4 separate regions of the Homo sapiens genome follow, and all the other regions are linked to region 1. Evidence: promoter capture Hi-C in 16 types of primary human blood cells and fetal thymus (Javierre and others, 2016). All regions are on one chromosome and are shown on one strand. The core of a region is centred on a gene start or on the middle of the fragment in contact, and the rest is flanking DNA. Distances in the headings are between cores, read along the strand shown. Region 1 holds the start of FAM222A-AS1 (FAM222A antisense RNA 1). Region 2 has its middle 32 kb from the start of MMAB. Region 3 has its middle 45 kb from the start of MVK. Region 4 overlaps MMAB (metabolism of cobalamin associated B).

Evidence for each region. The method cuts DNA at HindIII sites, captures the fragments that hold promoters and counts their contacts. A CHiCAGO score of 5 or more calls a contact.
Region 2: a contact is called between a fragment that was not itself captured here and the fragment with the promoter of FAM222A-AS1 in region 1, in 1 of 17 cell types (M1 macrophages). The highest score is 5.4, in M1 macrophages.
Region 3: a contact is called between a fragment that was not itself captured here and the fragment with the promoter of FAM222A-AS1 in region 1, in 3 of 17 cell types (M1 macrophages, M0 macrophages and M2 macrophages). The highest score is 6.5, in M1 macrophages.
Region 4: a contact is called between a fragment that was not itself captured here and the fragment with the promoter of FAM222A-AS1 in region 1, in 3 of 17 cell types (M2 macrophages, M0 macrophages and M1 macrophages). The highest score is 7.9, in M2 macrophages.

What each region holds. Positions count from the first base shown.
Region 1 is chr12:109,771,809-109,774,812 of GRCh38, forward strand. FAM222A-AS1 (FAM222A antisense RNA 1) reads right to left here and starts at 1,679. Exons shown (of 3, transcript NR_026662.2): 1 at 1,489-1,679. RefSeq lists an enhancer at 268-767. The HindIII fragment of the contact is 7,576 bases long and covers 1-3,004 here.
Region 2 is chr12:109,540,246-109,543,192 of GRCh38, forward strand. It overlaps a transcript of UBE3B not described here. Among named protein-coding and RNA genes, the nearest start is that of MMAB, 32 kb to the right of the region's middle. RefSeq lists an enhancer at 865-1,427. The HindIII fragment of the contact is 5,869 bases long and covers 1-2,947 here.
Region 3 is chr12:109,617,477-109,620,394 of GRCh38, forward strand. No RefSeq gene overlaps it. Among named protein-coding and RNA genes, the nearest start is that of MVK, 45 kb to the left of the region's middle. The HindIII fragment of the contact is 836 bases long and covers 971-1,806 here.
Region 4 is chr12:109,556,073-109,559,084 of GRCh38, forward strand. MMAB (metabolism of cobalamin associated B) reads right to left here. Exons shown (of 9, transcript NM_052845.4): 9 at 1-1,064. The coding sequence ends at 956. Among named protein-coding and RNA genes, the nearest start is that of MMAB, 16 kb to the right of the region's middle. RefSeq lists an enhancer at 1,566-2,067. The HindIII fragment of the contact is 5,041 bases long and covers 1-3,012 here.

The DNA.
Region 1 (3,004 bases), core at 429-2,928:
GATGTTGAGAGGGAGCGAGGTGTTCTGGCTGCAAGCCCCACCCCCACCCTCATTCATAATCAAAGCCCGCCTGGGTGCAGCCGGAACCCGGGGGAGCCTGGACGGGGCAAGCCCAGCAGGCCCAGCCTCTGCAGTGAGCTAGACTTGGGTTCCAATCCTGATAATGCCACCGTGAGTGACCCTAACCAATCCATTTCCCAAGGGGGGGCGGCACCAGAACCAGAGATGGAATTCAAGCAGACAAAAGCACAGTGTGAGCACTCGGGGAGGGAGTGGGGCAGGAAACCAAGGTCTAGGGCCAGGTGTTACACTGGGAGGTGGCCTATGTCTCAGCTGTTCCCAGGTGTCACCACTGGGGCCACCCAAGCACCAACTTGGTCACCCAGGTCCCCATGTCCTTGGTCAACTGCCAGGCGTACCCACACTGGGGCATCAGGAGAGGGGAAACGGGAGAGGCTGGAGCCACTCTCCATGCCCGGTCCCTCATATTTGGATATCAGAGCAAAGGATGCACCTGCTATCCTGGAAAAACCTCCTCATCCTCCACAGGGTGGGGTCTGTGTGCGTGGCAATGTAGGGGCGCATGGCACAGTCTGGGTCTGGGCCCAGGAACCCAGCTGGGGCTCTAGCCCTGACTACCTGTGCCTCCTTGGGCCTCAGTTTCCCCATCTAGGAACTGGGCTGGCTGATCTCAAAGTGCCCTCCGGTGGCCATTCTAGCATGGTTTCTTTATACAATCAATCACCTTTGATTACCACATTGATGGGGGGAGGACAGGTGACGAAAGCATTGCTATCACTGCTACAATTACTGAGATCCCACACTTAACTACAGGCAGACCAGATACCAGGCTCGGGGCTAAACGTTACTTGTGCCTCACAACCACTCGGCGCAACAGAGGTGCATGCACCCACATTACAGACAAGGTTAGTGAGACCCACAGAAGGGCAATCACTTTGCCCAAAGTCACACAGCTGAGGATGAAGAATGGAGAAGTGGCTGGGATAGAACACAGGCCTGTCTGATTCTGAGTCCTAGTTCCCAGCTGCAACCCTTTGCAGAGAATAGAAAACAACTGTCAACCGCCAAATGTGGCCAATTTGGCTCCAGAACCCAGGCACAGCCTTGGATCCCAGAGCCCCAACTGCCCAGACATCCCGGTGGGTGAGGGAGAAAGAGAGGAGAAGCCACCATCTCATCCAGGCCCCGGGCAGGAGCTGCAGTCCTTCTCTAGGTCTCTGTTCTGACACTAGGATCCTTCTCTCTCTACTTAGCTGTCCTGGGCTCACACCCTTTACCACGGAGCTGTCCAATACGGTAGCCTGGTGTGCAGAAAACCTCGGCTATCACTTCCTGTCATAGTGACCATTAGAAGATCACCCCAGGTCAGAGACAGGTGACCTTACAGAGAGATCAGAGCTGCCCCAGAAGGCCACGGGGGCTCAGGCGCAGATTTGGATAGAGGAAGCTATGTTAGTAGACACTCACCTTTCCAGGGTGGCTCTGTGTTTTCTTCACTCATATCCCTGTCTTTATATCACAACCCCATTTCTGGAGCGGGGAAACTGAGACAAGTTCCAACTTCTGAACTTGCCATCCAAACAGCGACTCCTAACTTTGCCCTACTCAGCTCCCTCGGCTGCAGCCTGGACTCCTCCACGCGCAGCTCCACGTGTGCCCAGCACCACTGCGCCTGCCCATCCCTCCCGGGCGCTCTTAAAGGGCCCACACCCCGTCCCACCCCCAACGTTGGCCGGAGAAGGTGGAGTCCAGCCAGCGCGATAGGTGAGAGCAAGGGACGAAAGGTTTTCTGTTTAAATTGCCACCATCACCAGCTCGCCAGCGAGTGGCAGGGGGAGGGGAGGAGGCAAGAAAACGGAACTTAGTATCCCACTGACTCCACGTGTGACCCTGGGTGACTTGTGTGCCTCTCTGAGCCTCAATTTCCAGATCTGTTGAAGGAAGTGGTGGCACCTGGAGGAGTGAGGTGGCATCAGGTGATGTGTGGTCAGGATGATAGGGCAGATTCGTCCTGTAAGAGGACCCCTCTGAGTGCTGTGGGATGTAGTTGTCTGAGGGTCAGAACTCGTTCCATCCTGAGGCTGTGTGCAGGTGTGTGTGACCTCAGGCAAGTGATCACTCCTGAGTCATCTATTTCCCAACTGTAAAATGAGGCTCCAACGGGGAGCTGTGGCTCATACCTGTAATCCCAGCACTTTGGGAAGCAAAGGCTGGAGGATCACTTGAGCCCAGGAGTTCAAGACCAGCTTGGGCAGTATCACGAGACCCCTATCTGTACAAACAATTTTAAGATTAGCTGGGTGTAGTGTGTGCCTGTAGTCCCAGATACTCAGAAGGCTGAGGTGGGAGGATCACTTGAGCCCAGGAGGTCAAGGCTGCAGTGAGCCATGATCGCACCACTGCACTACAGCCTGGGCAACAGAACAAGACCTCGTCTCATAAAATAAAATGAGGCTAATATTTTAATGTATGTACCATGTGAGGTTTAACTTAGGAGACAGGTGGTCAAATCCCCTGGGTAGCACAGAGCCATTAGGTAAAAGACATATAACAAAGGTGGAGTATTCCCATCCTTGCCTAGTGCAGCTGACTTCCAAGTCACCTTGGAAAGTGGGTTTCCCAGTCAAAAGAGTTTGAGAAACAGATGCCTATCCCGGCTCTTGGAGATACACAAATCGCATTAACATATTAAAGATGCTAACAGATCCTGCAGGCAAGATTCCCTTTTAACTTCTTTGCAGTGGCACAGTCTCGGCTCACTGTAACCTCTGCCTTCCAGGTTCAAGTGGTTCTCCTGCCTCAGCCTCCTGATTAGCTGGGATTACAGGCATGCTCCACTACACCTGGCTAATTTTTGTATTTTTAGTAGAGATGGGGTTTTGCCATGTTGACCAGGCTGGTCTCAAACTCCTGACCTCAAGTGATCTGCCTGCCTTGAAGGCCTCCCAAAGTGCTGGGATTACAGGCATGAGCCACCACGCCC
Region 2 (2,947 bases), core at 102-2,601, 230 kb before region 1:
GGCTGGATCAAGATTGCCCAGGCGCAATCTTGGTTCACTACAACCTCCGCCTCCGAGGCTCAAGCAATCCTCCCACCTCAGCCTCCCAGGTAGCTGGGACCACAAGTGTGCATCACCACAACCGGCTAGTTTATTTTGTATTTTTTATAGAAACAGGGTTTTGCCATATTGCCCACGCTGGTCTTGAACTCCTGGGCTCAAGCAATCCACCTGCCTTGGTCTCCCAAAGTTCTGGGATTACAGGCATGAGCCATTCACTGCACCGGGCCCCCTATGTGCAGGGTTACCAGTCAGGCTGCCTTCTCCAAATGCTTCTAAATCTGGTTTTTATGGGGCCATGGCAGTGGCCACTGAGTAAAGGAAGACACTTGTCGGAATGGCACATGGATGTTTAAAAAACTCAGTGTTCTGGAAACCCAGTGTCCTTGGCCTTCAGACCACGGGCATGTGAAAGAGAAGCTATTGTGAAGTCATTCTGGCCCTTCCAGGACTGCCCCTCACACAGAGTCCTAAACTAGCCTGCCTTATGCTGGGGAGGGACAAGTTATTTTACAACAAGAACATTGTAGCCAGAACTTGTGTGTTGTAGCCAGAACTTGTGCTGTTGCAAAGAGCAGAAGCTGGCAGACCAGCTCAGAGCCAGAGCAGGTGGTGAGGAGGTATGAGAGCGGCTCTGGGACCCACGCAAGAAGTGCGGTGGGCGGGAGCTGAGGTGGTCCTCTCCTCCTCTTGGGCCACATGAGCCCTTCTCTGCACGTCTCTGGCTCCAGCGTCCCCATGAACTGCCTCTGAGTCCACCATCCTTGCAGCTATGCAGCCTTGCGCTCCTGGGGCCTCTAGCCAAACCACTGCTGCATCCCTCAGACCATGTTCCAGCGTGGTCCACCTGCCTGCGGCTGAGTGGCCTTCAGCTAGGGTCCCCTCACTAGTCTGGTCAGCTCTGATGAGACAGGCTAGGATCCTGCAGGCAGCAGGGGCTGTAGACACAGCAGTTCCCAGATAAAGAGGCCGCAGAAGACCAAGCAGTGACCCAGGCCGGTGACGGGCAATGTGGACTAGTGGTCAAGGGCACAGGCCTTGACCTTGGACCTGTACTTGAGCTCGGATCACCACACCCACCCTCAGTGACTTGAGAGTAGGCAGCATTTCACTTCTCGGAGATTCATTTTCCCCAGCTGTAAAGTAGTGAATAACAGTTCCTGCCTGCCATGAGGATTAAACGAGGTCACATCTGTTAAGCACCTGGCAAATTATAGTTGCCCAGTAAATGCTATCTCCCCTTCTTCCTTGGCCTTGGGGCCAGGCAGGGTGGAGTATTGGGTCAGAAGGTAACTCTCATTGCTGTTCTAAAACAATTCCATTGGCTCCTATATTGGTTTCCCATGGCTGCTGCAACAAATCACAACAAGCCGGGTGGCTTAAAACAACGGAAATGTATTCTCCTCGGACAGTTCTGGCCAGAAGCCTGAAATCAAGGTGCCCACAGGCAGCACTCCCTCTGGAGGCTCTGGGGAGAAGCCTGCCCTGCCTCTTCTAGCTTCTGGTGGCCCCTGCGTGCTTGGCTGTAACTGTATCACTCCCATCTCTGCCTCCATCCCCATATAGTCTTCCCTCTAGGGCTTCCTCTTTCTCCTTCTCTTAGAAGGACTTGTCCTTGAATTAGGACCCACCCTCACCCAAGATGATCTCATCTTGTGGTCCTTACCTTAATTACATCTACAAAGACCTGTTTCCAAAAAAGGTCCCATGCACAGGTTCTGGGGGTTAGCACTTGGACAGATTGTTCAGGGGGACACCATTCAACCCACTACAACTGTCTTCCAGAGCAAGTGTGGCAGGAGGTGATTCTTCATGCCATGAACCACCACATGCTCACAGATCCTAAACAATCTCATAGGGTGAGGGGGTGAAAAGGAGAATTGCTTATTCAAGGACGGGAAATATTTGGCGCCTGTGTCATCACTGCCTCCTCCTCACCCATGGCAGACATTACTAATTGATTCCTGCACTGTGTCTTCATGTGCTGCTTTCAGCAGTCCATGGGTATGGGCCTGGGAAGCTAAACCTGTTTGCCATTTCCTGGCTTATGTCTTGTCTCAAAAGTGTAGTAGAAATAATAATAGTCATAATTAACATTTACTCAGGTGCCAGCCACTTTTTCTTGGAATATGTCACCAAATCCTCTCAATAGCTCTGAGATCATACTATTAATCCCGTCCTCAAGATGGTGTATGGGTTGAATTCTGTCCCAAAAAAGATGCATCCTAACCCCCACTACCTCAGCATGTGGCCTTATTTGGAAATAGGGTTGTTGTAGATGTAACTAGTTCAGATGAGGTCATATAGGAGTAGGGTGGGACCCTAATCCGATGTGACTGGTGTCCTTACAGAAAGAGAGGACTCGGCCATGTGAAGACAGAGGCAGAGACTCAAGTGGGGAACCTTCAGGCCAAGGAACGCAGGGACTTCCAGCCATCACCCATAGCCAGGAGAGAGGCTAGGAACAGATTCTCCTTCACAGCCTGGAGAGGAACCAACCCTGTGAATCTCTTGATTTCAGACTTAACAGCTTCTAGAATTGTGAGAGGATGAATGTCTGCTGCTTAAGTCCCCGAGTTTATGGTGCTTTGTTCCGTCAGCCACAGGAAACTAGTATAGATTTTGAGACCAGACAGATTTGTCACACACCCAAGGTCACATGTTTGGAAGAGGTCAAACCAGGATTTGAACTTGGGCTGGTGGGCATCACAGGAACCGGCAGCTGCTGCTCAGCCCCAGCAGCTGGCCGCCCTGCCCAGGCTAGATACCATGTGGCCAGGCTCCCCACTTTTCAAAAGAAGCCACAAATTCCAATGTCTGTGAAATCTCCAGATTTAAAAATTGTTGGCAGATTGAAAATCTGAAACACCACTGTTCAGGCCTCGGGAAATACAGAAGGGCTGCGTGT
Region 3 (2,918 bases), core at 139-2,638, 150 kb before region 1:
CACCTCTCTGAGATGAAATGACACCGCATCAGCAGCGTCCCCAGCACGGTGCTTGATGTGTAGTGGGGGCTCACAAAGCACTCCCTCCCTCCCTTTTCCACCTTCTTTCTAATAAGCCACCCGTACCACCAGCCATTTGTCTAATAGTGATTGGGCTCCTGCCACGTGCCAGGCCTGCACCGGGCCCCGGCCCAAGCTGCTGCAGAACTGAGAATCATTTGTCCTGCAACAAACACTGTCTGAGCATCTCCTCCGAGCCAGACTCTGGGGACACAGCGGCCACAAGACAGCTCTGGCCCCTGCTCCTGTGAGGTCCACGGTGTCTCAGGGAAGCAGACTGGAAGCTGGAGTTTGGGTGTTTGGGGTTTTAATGGGGTGTTGGGAGGGCCTGGATGCCAGTCAGCAGCATCCATCAAGGAAAGAACCCCTCCAGTATTCTCAGCCTGACATCTGGGAAGGAGTCCTAGATGGGGTTCTCAGTGTGCAAGACCCCAGCACACAAGTCCAAGCAGCCCTCAAATCCTGGGCCTGGAGGGGTCTGGGAGGGCTGGACCACTCAGGTACTTTCCCTCCACTCACCCCCAGGACCACCGCCCACCACCTCACCTCCCACCAGGACCTGAGGGCGCTGGCCTGCTGCCCCCTGGCCACTCCCTGGCCCAGGTCAGCCGCCTGCCCCTGCTCTATTCATCAAGGGCATGACAACTGAAATTCATTTGAAGATGAAGAAAGTGCCCGCTAATCCATTCTGCAAGACATTGATAGACTAGCAGCTCAGGGAGAATTGCACGGCAGTAATGAAATTAGGCTAAAACTGCTGGCGGATTGCAGATAATTGCCCTTGTCTGTCACTAGGAATAACATCTCCCAAATCCAACACAATGATTGTTCAAGTTGCAGGAATTTCTTTTCTTTTCCTTTTTTTTTTTTTTTTAAAGGCAGGAGAGGCAAGGCCAATCTGGGTCTTGGAAGCTTTGCCTGGGCAGCAGCCTGGGGTGTGGGAAGTGGGCATCTGTATACTCACCACCTCCCCTGCCCAGCCTCAGCCAGTAGGGATGGGGGTACAGGGCAGGAGGAGGAGGTCAGGACATTTTTCCCTGGATGCCCTCCACTCGCATATTCTAGCCAGTAAGGTCCTGGGTGGAAAGCAGAGAGGGAGCAGGGAATCTTGGGGAGTGGGGCCTAAGCAGTGACAGCTCTGGATTTGTTTTAGTTTTTGTTTTGAGACAGGGTGTCACTCTGTCACCCAGGTTGGAGTGCAGTGGTGCGATCATAGCTCCCAGCAGCCTCGAACTCCTGGGGCCAAAGCGGTCCTCCTGCCTCAGCCTCCCAAGTGGCTGGGACTACAGACACATGCCACCAGACCGAATTGACAGCTCTGGATTTTTATGAGATTGAGTCTGCCTGGAAGAAGAGTCATAAAGTCACACTTCCATTATGTTGAGGCAACATCCATTCCGCACATAAGAGAATGGACTGAGGCGGGGCAGCTCAAGCCCCACTAAGCCACTCCCCAAGGCTGCTATGGGGTCTAGATTCTCAGAGAGGAAAGTTCTGAGAAGGGACTCTTTATGGACTCAGTGGTTTCCTAGGCTGTTGGCGTGATCGGCGCATAGCTGGCTGTAGTTAATGCTGCCTGAGTGAATGACGTCAGAGAGCATTCAATGTCAGCAACAGCATGTTTGAATGTCAGCATGATGGGCTTGTCACGTGTTAGCATTATGGCATGTGTGCATGTCATCGGATGATGTCATAGAAGATTTGAATGTCAACATCGTGCTATGTTCCAATGTCAGCAGCCCAGAAAGCTTGACTGTCCTTCTCCTAGGTGGTTGGAGTGTCAACATCATGTTTTAGCACAGGCAGATAATTGACTCAGAGAACGGGGAGCTGTAAGGAGTGCTAGGGATTGGTCCAAACTTCACTTGACAGATGAGGAAATGGAGGCCCAGAGAAGTTAAGTGATTTGCCCAAGGTCACACAGCAAGAAGGATCCTAAATGTAAGCTTCATCAGTGTCACAGTTTGGGCTAGGTCAGCCCTTGGAGAACTTGTAACCCTTTCTCTCCACCAGGTCCCTCTGGTCCCAGTCCCCCTGGGGTGCTGGTTCCTGGTCCTCAGTTCTTGGGAATATGCCCATGCTCTGAAATTGATTGCAGGAATTCCCAGAATCCTTTGGCCTGCTAACCATGGGTTAGTCAATTTCGCTCATCAGCCCCAGCCATGGAAGGAGTCACGCTTTCTCTATCCTCATTCCTTTTGATCAAAAGGAGTCTGTTGAGGGCTTCTTATGGCCAAGGAAGGGTGCTGAGAATGAGATGAGGCCATGAGGAAGATGGCAGAGTGGACTGGAGCCGTAGAGGAGGGAGATGTGATCCCCATTGAGGGCTTATGTTTGGGAAGTCTTCAGGAAGAAGTTGACTTTTGAAGGGGGTTTTGAAGGAGCCGAAAGGTTTTCACCTGGAGCCTCAGCCAGAGTTGGAATTGGGAGAGGGGCTAGGTATGGGGATAGAAGACATTTGCCCCCAAAATGGGGAAGAGGCCCAGATAATGGGGGTAGAGGTGGTGGTACAGTACCCGATGATGTAGGGCCATTTATTATGGTCTTTCTTTTCATCAGATTTCATCCACAACCTCCAATACCCCTGGCAGCCCTGGAAGAATCAGTGATTGTCAAAGTGTGATCCACAGACCTCTGCGGGTCCCCAAGACTCTTTCAGGGTTTCTGGGAGGTCAAAACTGTTTTCATCATAACGCAAAGATGTCCTTTCATCAAAGTACTTGCCAGGCCTGACCCTACGTAGCTTTGGAGATGCAGACAAAATTGGGCACATTCAGGGTAGCACGGCTACAGACAATACAAAGATATTATTGGCCTTTTTCACCATGTTGACATTTGCACTCAGGGTGCAAAAGTCA
Region 4 (3,012 bases), core at 286-2,785, 220 kb before region 1:
AAATATTGCCTTTCCCAAGGACACTGCTGGCACTGGCAGTGTCGTTTCATAGCAGGAGGGAGCAGCAGTGACAACTGAAATAAATACAGCCGTGGCACCGATCTCAGAGGCATAAGCCAGCCAAGTGCAACATCGGAGAAATCAGTCTGGTGGATGTCAGCCTTGCTGGAAACTGACAACCTCATTTTCTCAAGCTGAAGATGCTGCACCGCAGACCCTTGACTCAGTCCAACCAGACAGGGAATGTTCACCTTCAAGTGGTAGTGTTGTTCTCATCAGCATCTCCATCCCTTTCAGAGGGGGTCCTCTAAGCTGCACCCCCATCACACACACTTCAATCTAAGCCAGGAGTTTCTGAGCCTCGCCTGTCAATCTGCAGCTATCCTTCCCCCACACTTTGGCGGTGATGGGTGGCTCAGAGGTGACTAAACTTCCAAATCTTGTCCGCCTTCCCCTTTACAAATGTGACATTTAAAGCACCTTTGGCACAGGTAAATCACAATTACATTTTCAAGGGCCTCTGGTCCCATTCCAAATCTGTGAACAACCTGAGCTGGCAGTGGGAGGGCTCTCTCTCACACACACACACACACACACACACACACACACACACACACACACGGCTCCAGCCTTTCCAACTTTTATTCCTTTTCCGCACAGCTCCTTCTCATTGCAGCAATCACTTTACCTGTCTTTCCTGCAATGCCAATTCATTCCCACATCCCTCCAAGACCCAGGAGAGCTTGGGGAAGCAGGGTCAGGGACAGAATCCCCAAAGGGTCACAGTCCCTTGAGGAAGGTGGCAAGAGGTGTAGATCAAAGCTGAGCTGGGACAAAAGGCTGCTTTGAGCCTCTCTGGGTGAGCTCTTCAGGAACCAGGACCCCAGAAGGGCAAGCTCCTCTCTCCACGGCCATCGCCATGGAGGGATCCTCCAAGCTCCCACTTTCTGTGATTTCAGAGTCCCTCAGACTCGGCCGATGGGTCATTTTTCATGTATATTTTCTCTTGATTCCCCTCCTTCATGGCTGCATATCTGGCTAGCGTGAAGAGATAGTCACTGAGTCTGGAGGGGCAGAGAGAGAGAAGCAAACAGAATGGTTTGAAATGAGAGATCAACGCTAACTGGGTCTTCCCATATCCGCCTACAAGGAGGAGATATAAATGACGCACTCTGGGCACATTGTGCAGGGAGGGCGGGGGCCCAGCCATCTTGCACTTAATGGATGGCACACGAGGCCAGCTGCTGTGAATGCCAAGGACTCTACTCCAGTGTCAAGGCTGGGGCCATTCCTGCAGGATGAGGCCATTGCCCCGGCCCTACCCCATGGGGCAGATGACTTTGGACTCCTCTCTGAGCCGGTTTTTGCACCTTTGAGTGATCAGGGCTCAGGTGCGTGATCAGTTTGGGTGTTTCCCAAACTACAGTGTGCACAGGCATCACCAGGGGATCTCAGCGACGTGCAGATTCTGACTCAGGAGGGCTGGGCTGGGCTGGGCCCGGGGCTCTGCAGGTCTAGTTCCTGCCCTGGCTGATGCTGACACTGCTGGACTAGGCCCTACTGACATTCTGGATCATTCTGTGTGTTCGGGGCTGTCCTGTGCATCCTGTGCAGTGTAGGATGCTGACAGCACCTTTGGTCTCCACCCACCAGGTGCCAGTGGCACCCCTGCACCCAGTGTGACAACTAGTAATGCCTCCAAACATCGCCAAAGGTACCGGGTGAGAAGCACAGGCTGGAGCACTCTAGAGACCAGAGCCCAGCCCCTTTCCCGCCTCCTCCTTTGAACCAACAGCAATGGTCATCTGTGCATGAGGCCTTCTGCAGGGGCAGCAGTGGAGGGAACTAGAGGACGACGCCACGGGCCCCAGAAGGCGCTTACGCTGTCAGCTCTTCTGCCTTCTGCTGTCCGCACCTTTTGCTGTTTCACTCCCAGCACGAGGCACCACGTTCCTCCCTCTCTCTCTGCCCCAGTCTTGCCCTCAGAGGCCAGCTCCACACCACATCCTCCTGAGTCCTCCCCTGACTCAGGCCCCCTGGGCCCCACGGCTGGCTCTCAGGAAGAGCGAAGGGGAGGTTGTTCAGGGTATTTTACCCCTGGGCCGCATGCTCCTGGAGGGCAGTGGTGTGCCTGTTGCTTGTTGGCTCTGTGAAGCCTCACTGAGGAGATGAAATGGCCTGTCCCGTGCAATGCTATGGGACCGCAGGGTTGCTGCTTTGAAGGTGAAGTAGACCTGCTCCTCACTCCCGGCGAAACCCCCCTCCCAGAAGGAAAGGAGCTGCTCAGGACCCGTCAAAGCGCCATGTCTCTGGGAGGAGTGGCCACAGTCAAGGGCCTGAGGTCACTTTCTAGACACCCAGGACAGCTCCTGGGGTGCAGACCTGCTCCCCCAGCTCTCTACCTGCCCCCAGGCTCTGGCCTTGCCCACACTGATGCCACAGAAGCCAGGGCTGGGGCAGGAACCCGCAGAGCAGGCTTTGGGCCAGGTGTGGCTCCAGCCTCATGGGCCGGCCGCGAGGCAGAGGAAGCCCTCCCTGGGCTAGCCTGGCTCACTGGGGCCTGCATGGGGTCCCCTGAGCGCAGCTTGGCCCGGCTCTCTTGTTGGTTCATGCTGCCGCAGGCCCTCTCGGGGACAGGAAACTGGCTGAGAGAGGGCCTGAAGCCTGGCTCCCTGGTCAGTCACCACCGAGAGGCCTCCCCTGAGCACCCAGCCTCTAAGAACGCCCTTTGCCCCCGCAATGCCACTTTGCACTTAGGTTTTTCTTCCTGGTTTTTACAGCAGCCTCTCCCAATAAGATCTAAATCTTATCGGGACAGGCACAGGGCCCACCTTGTTCACCACTGCCTCCCCTGTGCCCGGCGTGGTGCCTGGCACAGAGCAGATGTTCATAAACACTAAGGGAATGAAGGAGGGGGTGCGGGAATGCTGCCCCACACTGCTTCCCGGACCGCTGCACCGCTGCTACTTCCCACAGATGAGCCTCGGCTTTCAGAGAGGAACCCCCAGGTTC